Regions from separate parts of the Homo sapiens genome. Here region 1 is linked to region 2. Evidence: promoter capture Hi-C in human tissues and cell types (Jung and others, 2019). All regions are on one chromosome and are shown on one strand. Each heading gives the region's core, a stretch centred on a gene start or on the middle of the fragment in contact. The rest is flanking DNA. Distances are from core to core; before and after follow the strand shown. Region 1 overlaps THEM6 (thioesterase superfamily member 6). Region 2 holds the start of ARC (activity regulated cytoskeleton associated protein).

What was found. Contacts are between HindIII fragments. The study calls those that stand out against the background at their distance.
Region 1: a contact is called between a fragment that was not itself captured here and the fragment with the promoter of ARC in region 2, in 2 of the 25 tissues and cell types used here (IMR-90 fibroblasts and dorsolateral prefrontal cortex).

Annotation. Positions count from the first base shown.
Region 1 is chr8:142,732,502-142,736,531 of GRCh38, reverse strand. It overlaps THEM6 (thioesterase superfamily member 6), which reads right to left. Exons shown (of 2, transcript NM_016647.3): 2 at 1-1,206. The coding sequence ends at 1,093. Among named protein-coding and RNA genes, the nearest start is that of THEM6, 7.3 kb to the right of the region's middle. The HindIII fragment of the contact is 7,269 bases long and covers 1-4,030 here.
Region 2 is chr8:142,612,615-142,616,458 of GRCh38, reverse strand. ARC (activity regulated cytoskeleton associated protein) reads left to right here and starts at 1,980. Exons shown (of 3, transcript NM_015193.5): 1 at 1,980-3,844. The coding sequence starts at 2,188. The coding sequence ends at 3,378. RefSeq lists a silencer at 1,664-1,873 and an enhancer at 1,889-2,787. The HindIII fragment of the contact is 38,144 bases long and covers 1-3,844 here.

The DNA.
Region 1 (4,030 bases), core at 1,018-3,517, 120 kb before region 2:
GCAGGAGGGGGTGGCCCCAGCCAGTGTCCTAGTAGCCTGGTGTCTCCATTAGGGAGACCTGAGAAGCTGCCAGGAGAGGCTCTGCTAGCGCAAGGCAGGGCCGGCCCAGCAGCTGACAAGGAACATGCTGAATATAGAGGACAGAGGAGTTAAGAAGACGCCTGCCGGCCAGGCCAGAGAGGGGCAGCTCTAAGGGGGTACAGCGGCCTGTGGTGCTGTAGGCCCAGAAAGGGTGGGGATCAGCCCAAGTCACAGAGCATGGCCCTGGTGGGCGGCGAGGGGTGCGAGTGGACAAGGACACCCCTGCAGAGTCCCACCCCCACTCTATTCCCTCCAACAAGGGAACGCCCAGCAGGAAGCCTGCTGTCTTTCCAGGAGCCCCTGTGCCACCTAGTCTGACCCCTCTCAGCCACAAGGCTACCCTCCCGTCCAGCCTGACTGGAGGTAGAGGAGGAGGAGGAGGCAAGGCCGACTGCAGTGGGGAGCCCGGGTGCCCCGTCCTCTGTCAGCAAATGCCTCCCTTCCATCTGCCTCTAGCCCCGGCCTCTGACCACCCAGGCTCTGCCCCAGGCCTGCAACCACCTCAGCGGAAGCCAGAGGGGCTGCCTGGCAGATGCCGCTCTGACCCTTCAGGAGTGCCCACTGCACCTGAATCAGGCCCAGGCCCTGGAGAGCCCAGGCCTGTACCCAGGATGCTCTGGTCTGGCCCTGCCTCGGCCCTTGCAGTGGTCCGAGCCAGGATCTAGGCTCGGGAGGCACTTGTGGGTCCCTCTGCTCCAGGCACCATCCTCCCCTACCTAGGCCCACATGAGTGGCCTCATCGTAGGGCCAGGCAGGACTCTCCTTTGCCCATCCATCCCCACCTTGAGGGCAGAGCTGGGTCAGGATGCCAATGCCACTCCTCCTTCTGCCTAGCGTGGAGCCCAGCACAGAGGGGTATCAATAACTGGGGGGGCCCAGTGGGTGGAGCAGGGTGGGCCAGGCTGGTCAGGAGGCTACTCCAGCTGGAACAGAGTATGGCTGAGACTGCCCATCTGTGGGCAGCCCCCAGGCCCAGGATGGTGGCCAGGGCAGACGGTGTGAAGGTGGCGGTCACTGGTCCTTGGTGACATCACTGAGCCCACTCTCCATGCGGAGCAGCTGGCTGCTGGCCTCGTTGTAGGAGATCCAGTGCTGCAGATCAGCGGGCAGCTCAGGGGGCTCCACCTGCAGAGGACAGAAAGGGGACACCCAGCTAAGCTACGGCCTTCCCACCTCTGGGCCGCTGCCCACACTGCTCCCCAGCCCGTGACCTTCCAAGATCCCCTGCCCCGCCGCCTGCCATGCTTTGCCCATGCCTCCCCAGGCTCTGCACACTTGTGCTACCCCTGCATACCCACCTTGACACAGCCCCGCTTGTGCCTGGCCCGTCTCCCCTAGGGGCCATCCCCAGAACCCAGCCAGAAACCCGTGAAGTTGGCAGGTTGGGAAGGGCAGAGAGGAAATCCAGAGGCCTCAGGGTGACAGGGGACAGAGGGGTGGAGGGCCAGCATGGGAGCCCTCCTCCAGGAAAGTACCAGACAGGGCTCACTGAGTTCTCTTCTTTCTCCAGGGCACCCAGAGGATGGCACTTCATCCCCCAGGGCAGCCTGGGCCTGACCACTCCACTATCAACCCTCTCCACACACACAGCCACCATGTGGCAATGGGAGCCAGGCTCCAGGCCACTCCTGAGGGGTCCACAGCCTTGCAGATGGGCATTGGGAGCTCCCAGGATGAGGGGACAGGCCAGGCACAGGCCCACCCCCACTTCAGGGTGAGCAGCACACAGAGGTGCTCAGAGATAAAGCCCAGACCTTCCCTGCAGATGAGTCGTGACCCCCATGGCAAGTCCCAGCAGAGCTGGGCCTGGACTCTCCCCTGGACCACTCCCCTCCCCACCTAGTTTCAACCATGTGACCAACACTCACCCCAGCCCAGCTCTTCCTCTTTGGCCACATCACCGCAGGCCAGCCTCTCAACATGCAAGACCCAACCCTGGCTCAGCCTGCCCAAACTGCAGCCGCGGTCTTTCCACATCATCGACAGAGTCTCTGCTGTTCTGGGTCCCAGCCTTCACCTCCCACAGGGACCTCACCAACCAGCCCATGCCTGATTTTATCACTCCCTCTTTCCCAGAAAAGCAACCCTGGCTCCCCATCTCCTCGGCCTCCGTGCCCGGCTCTCAGCCTTGGTGGCCTTTGCCTCTGGACTCTAGATGCATGAAAGACATAGAGTCCAGCACCTGGGGACAGAGAGAGATCTAGGCCTTTTAGGGGGTTCCTGACTGTAAACCAAAAATAACATCGGAAGGTACCCCCAACCATCTGAATGAACTTCCTCCAATAGGCCAGGGCCCTCCACATTTAACCAGAAAGACTAGCCCAGGCCATGATAGAAGAGGGTGTGGGACAGGCCTGTTATGCCCTCCAGCATTAACAACACAGACCTTAAGTCCGACAAGAAACATTTATGATCTATTCCCTCTGAAGCCTGCAGCCTGGAGGCTTCATCTGCATAATAAAACCTAGGTCTCCACAACCAGTATCTTAACCCAGACATGCCTTTCTACTGATAATAGCTCTTTCAACCAACTGCCAATCAGAAAACTTTTACATCTACCATGACCTGAAAGCCCCCCTTCCAGATGGCATCAATGTGAATCTTACATGTACTGACAGATGTATTGTGCCTCCCTGAGATGTATAAAAGCAAGCTGTGCCCCGACCACCTTGGGCACATGTTGTCAGGACTGGTGAGTCCTTATCCTTGGCAAAGTAAACTTTCTAAATTGACTGAGACATATCTCCGATACTTTTTGGTTCACATGACTCAACAGAAACAGAAGACCAGGGAGCCGTGTAGCTTTGTGCAGTGCCATAGCTCCTCTGAGCCTCAGTTTCCCCATTCCTGACATGACCTCTCAGTGTCAGAGGCGCTGGAACCAGAGCGACTCCATTTTGAGTGAGGGCTGGGAAATGAGGCTGGGGCCTGCTGGGCTGCATCCCCAGAAAGAGGCATTCCGAGCCTCTAGATGTTTAGTTGTAAAGTAGAGGTTCCTCTTCAAAGACTTTCCTACCGATCTAATTAGGAATAAATAGTAACTTCTCTTAGAAGCAAAATTTATTCAAAGACCTGTGCTAACATTATTAAATATCTGCTAGCAGTAATAAAGAAAGCAATGTACTACTTTAGGTTCTTAGCTCCCACAATTTAGCCTAAATATTTGCCCTGGCATGCTTATACTGGTCCAAGCGGGCATTAGGTCATAGCCTGTTCCTCTTCCTTATTTGAAGGTGTTTTTACCTTTCTCAGCATTCCACAAATTACTTCCTTCCTTTGTTCTCCTCTGCCTTTGCCTCTTTTAAAAAGTTGTACGTTGCTAGCCAATCGGGACAGATACAGAATGTGAGGTCCCATCCCAGTCAATGGAAACCAGAGACGGCAATAGGGTGGACGCGTCAGGTTATAAATGACCCTGTTTCCTTTGTTGGGTGAACTCTTGTGGCAAAGCTGATGGCAAGTGTGTCCTTTCTGCAGGAAGTAAAAATGTCCTTGCTGAGTAAATTAAATTTATGTTCAACTGCTGTTTCTTTACGGCACCGGGGAACAAGCATTTCAAACAATTTGGTGGCAATCCGTACAGGGCTACATTCTCCTGCGGGGGCGGTCTCTGTTCCTCTCTCATGAGGGAGCACGCTCCTCTGCCTCACTGCAGTGGCCTCAGGGATGAGAAATTGAGACCCACCTGGTGTGACGAATAAACCCGGACTCTCAGCAATGCAGAAAAAAAAAAAAAAAAGAAACTGGCCAGCAACCTAAGGTAAAGGATGCTCACATACCAGGGCTGCAACTCTGTGCACAGACCAAGGAAGGAGAAGCCACAGAAGCTGGTAAAGTACTTCCTTGGTGGTGAAATTCTGGAGGGCTGAATGTGTGTATGTGTGAATGATCACAGACAACCCTGCTTGCAGTGTGGTTTGTGTGGACGGTGACAAGTCCTCCTGCTGGA
Region 2 (3,844 bases), core at 731-3,230:
TACAGGCTCAGGCTGGCCCCAACCCGGACATGTGGCCCTCGGTGACCGCTGGCTGCACTCACCCAAGGCTGCTGGCGTCTGCCCGTCCCGCATGTGCCCACCCAGCTCCTCTCCCTGGGATTCCGCAGTGGAGAAGCGGGAAGGTCCCTGTGCTGGAGACTTCTCTGCCTGGCTCCCCCTCCCAGCTCCGCGGTGCCCCTCCGCCCTCCCTTCTCTGTCCGCCCACTTACCTTTAATTAGAAATGCCAGGAGAGCCATTTTTGGGGAGTTTTTTTGCCAGAAAGACATTCCCCCCCAGGGGCGGAAGGAAGGAGGAGACAGACTGGCTCTGAGGCTGGGAGAGGGCTCCCCGGGAGAGCCGGTTGGGGGGGGGCTCAGAGGGTTGGCAGGGAGGGGGGATTCCAGCAAGTGGGCACCTGTGTGCCCTTGAGTGCCTGAATAAGACAGGGGATGCTGGGGGGAGCTGAGGGCTGTGAGTGGGGGGTATGAGTGTGTATGTGGGAGCTATGAGTGGGGGGTATGAGTGTGTATGTGGGAGCTATGAGTGGGGGGTATGAGTGTGTGTGGGGGCTGTGAGTGAGGGCATGAGTGTGTGGGGTGGGGTTAGAGTGGGGGCTATGAGTGTGTATGTGGGGGTGTGAGTGTGCAGCATGTGTGTGTCTGAGAGAGGGAAAGGGCAGCTGGCAGCAGGAACAAGATGTCTTGATTGTCAGCGATGATGTCCTCATGGCCCTCTGGCTGTGGGGAATGGTGTGTGTCACCCCTGCCTGGGTAACATCAGAGGACCTGAGACCCATGCCTATCCAGCCAGCACTGGAGTAACTCAGGAAGGGCGTCCCTACCCCCGCCAGGTTGCCAGGGAGGCAGAAGGGACCTCCCTCCCGAGGGAGTCTCGGCTTCCGGAGCCCCGCTCCTTATATGGTGCTTGGCTTCCCTCTGCCTCTCCTGATGGCACTGTGCTGCCAGCACCGGCCCCCCTCCCTCTCCCTCCTCGCCTCTCCTCCCTCCCCTTCTCCTTTCCCTCCTTCCACCTCCCTCCCTGTCTCCCTCTCTCCTCCCCTCTTCCATCCCCTTAGAAGTCTTGGAGCCTCTGGCCAGGTTCTTGATATAGCCAGGGTCTTCAGGGCCCAATTCCCTTCACTGGGGGCTAAATGTCCCCTCCATGTCCTCCAAACCCCAGCCCCCCAGGTAGCAGCTGCCAGATTTCCCTGGAAACACAGAAAAGTATTGGGCCTCACCAGAGACCTGCGTATGGGGGCATGGGGCAGCCCTGTCCAGTCACTGCCACGTGGGCCCCTGTCACCCATGCACACCAACGCCAGGGCCAGGCAGAGCGAGCCTCTGCCTGGCTGTGCGTCCCTCACACAGAGCCCAAGACCTGGACTCAGGACCCGGGCAGGAGTGAGTGGGAGCTCAAAGCCACATCTGGGAGCTCACATGGAGACTTGCTGAGCCCCTGGGCACAGAGGCTGATGGTGAGGGTCCTTCCCGGGCTCAGCTGCACATCCTGCAGAGCTGGGTGGGCGGGGTCAGGGGCAGTGAGGACCCAGGAGAGCAGTGGCCAGCGCCAGCCCCCTCCAGCCCCGCAAAGAGAGAGGCGAGTGGAGAGGAGGAAGGCCACCTTGGGACCCTGGGAGGCAGCAGATGACAGCCCGCCCAGCGCCCGGGAGGGGGCGTGGGAGGGGCGCCCAGTGCCCGGCTCAGTCCCTCGGTCCCCGCAGGCTGAATGAGCCCCGCCGTCCGGGGTGGGAGGTACGGAGCGGAGGGATTAGTCATCCTGGCCCCGCCATGTGTGCAGGGGGTGGGACCTCCCGTCCCTTGCCGCCCGGGAGCCGAGTGGGCGCAGGGCGGGGCCTGCAGGGGCGCGGGCGGGGCGCTGGCGGGGAGCCTGCGGCTGGGCCAATGAGAAACCGGGCTCGGCGAGCCGGCCGCCCACGGGCCTCGCTGGCTGCATAAAGAGCCGGCGGCCAGGACTCAGCGCAGAGCTCGGGCGCGGCGTCCTCCCTCCGCAGCAGCCGAGCCGGACCTGCCTCCCCGGGCGTGCTCCGCCGGCCCCGCCGCCGGCCCGCAGCGACAGACAGGCGCTCCCCGCAGCTCCGCACGGGACCCAGGCCGCCGGACCCCAGCGCCGGACCACCCTCTGTCCGCCCCGAGGAGTTTGCCGCCTGCCGGAGCACCTGCGCACAGATGGAGCTGGACCACCGGACCAGCGGCGGGCTCCACGCCTACCCCGGGCCGCGGGGCGGGCAGGTGGCCAAGCCCAACGTGATCCTGCAGATCGGGAAGTGCCGGGCCGAGATGCTGGAGCACGTGCGGCGGACGCACCGGCACCTGCTGGCCGAGGTGTCCAAGCAGGTGGAGCGCGAGCTGAAGGGGCTGCACCGGTCGGTCGGGAAGCTGGAGAGCAACCTGGACGGCTACGTGCCCACGAGCGACTCGCAGCGCTGGAAGAAGTCCATCAAGGCCTGCCTGTGCCGCTGCCAGGAGACCATCGCCAACCTGGAGCGCTGGGTCAAGCGCGAGATGCACGTGTGGCGCGAGGTGTTCTACCGCCTGGAGCGCTGGGCCGACCGCCTGGAGTCCACGGGCGGCAAGTACCCGGTGGGCAGCGAGTCAGCCCGCCACACCGTTTCCGTGGGCGTGGGGGGTCCCGAGAGCTACTGCCACGAGGCAGACGGCTACGACTACACCGTCAGCCCCTACGCCATCACCCCGCCCCCAGCCGCTGGCGAGCTGCCCGGGCAGGAGCCCGCCGAGGCCCAGCAGTACCAGCCGTGGGTCCCCGGCGAGGACGGGCAGCCCAGCCCCGGCGTGGACACGCAGATCTTCGAGGACCCTCGAGAGTTCCTGAGCCACCTAGAGGAGTACTTGCGGCAGGTGGGCGGCTCTGAGGAGTACTGGCTGTCCCAGATCCAGAATCACATGAACGGGCCGGCCAAGAAGTGGTGGGAGTTCAAGCAGGGCTCCGTGAAGAACTGGGTGGAGTTCAAGAAGGAGTTCCTGCAGTACAGCGAGGGCACGCTGTCCCGAGAGGCCATCCAGCGCGAGCTGGACCTGCCGCAGAAGCAGGGCGAGCCGCTGGACCAGTTCCTGTGGCGCAAGCGGGACCTGTACCAGACGCTCTACGTGGACGCGGACGAGGAGGAGATCATCCAGTACGTGGTGGGCACCCTGCAGCCCAAGCTCAAGCGTTTCCTGCGCCACCCCCTGCCCAAGACCCTGGAGCAGCTCATCCAGAGGGGCATGGAGGTGCAGGATGACCTGGAGCAGGCGGCCGAGCCGGCCGGCCCCCACCTCCCGGTGGAGGATGAGGCGGAGACCCTCACGCCCGCCCCCAACAGCGAGTCCGTGGCCAGTGACCGGACCCAGCCCGAGTAGAGGGCATCCCGGAGCCCCCAGCCTGCCCACTACATCCAGCCTGTGGCTTTGCCCACCAGGACTTTTGAGCTGGGGCTGACTCCTGCAGGGGAAGCCCTGGTCCAGCTGGGTGCCCCCTCGAGCTCCGGGCGGACTCGCACACACTCGTGTCATCCAGATGTGAGCACCGCACCCAGCGGCAAAGAGCCCTCCCCCCTGCAGGGCTCCACCCATCACCCTCCCTCCGTCTGTCTTTCCGGCCTGGACCCCACCCTCCACACTCTCAGGCCATCACAGAACACCCCAGCTTCCTCATTCTGCTACAACACCCAGGCCCTCTGGACATCCAGAAAACCAAGTGTCCGGATGGCAGGGGCCAGCGGCCACCAAGCTCATGGGACACCCAGAGCAGAAGCTAGGGCAGAGCCAATGCTGAGGGAGCCTCGACTTCCGGCGCCGCCGCCCTCTCCCGGCATCCGCAGAGCCA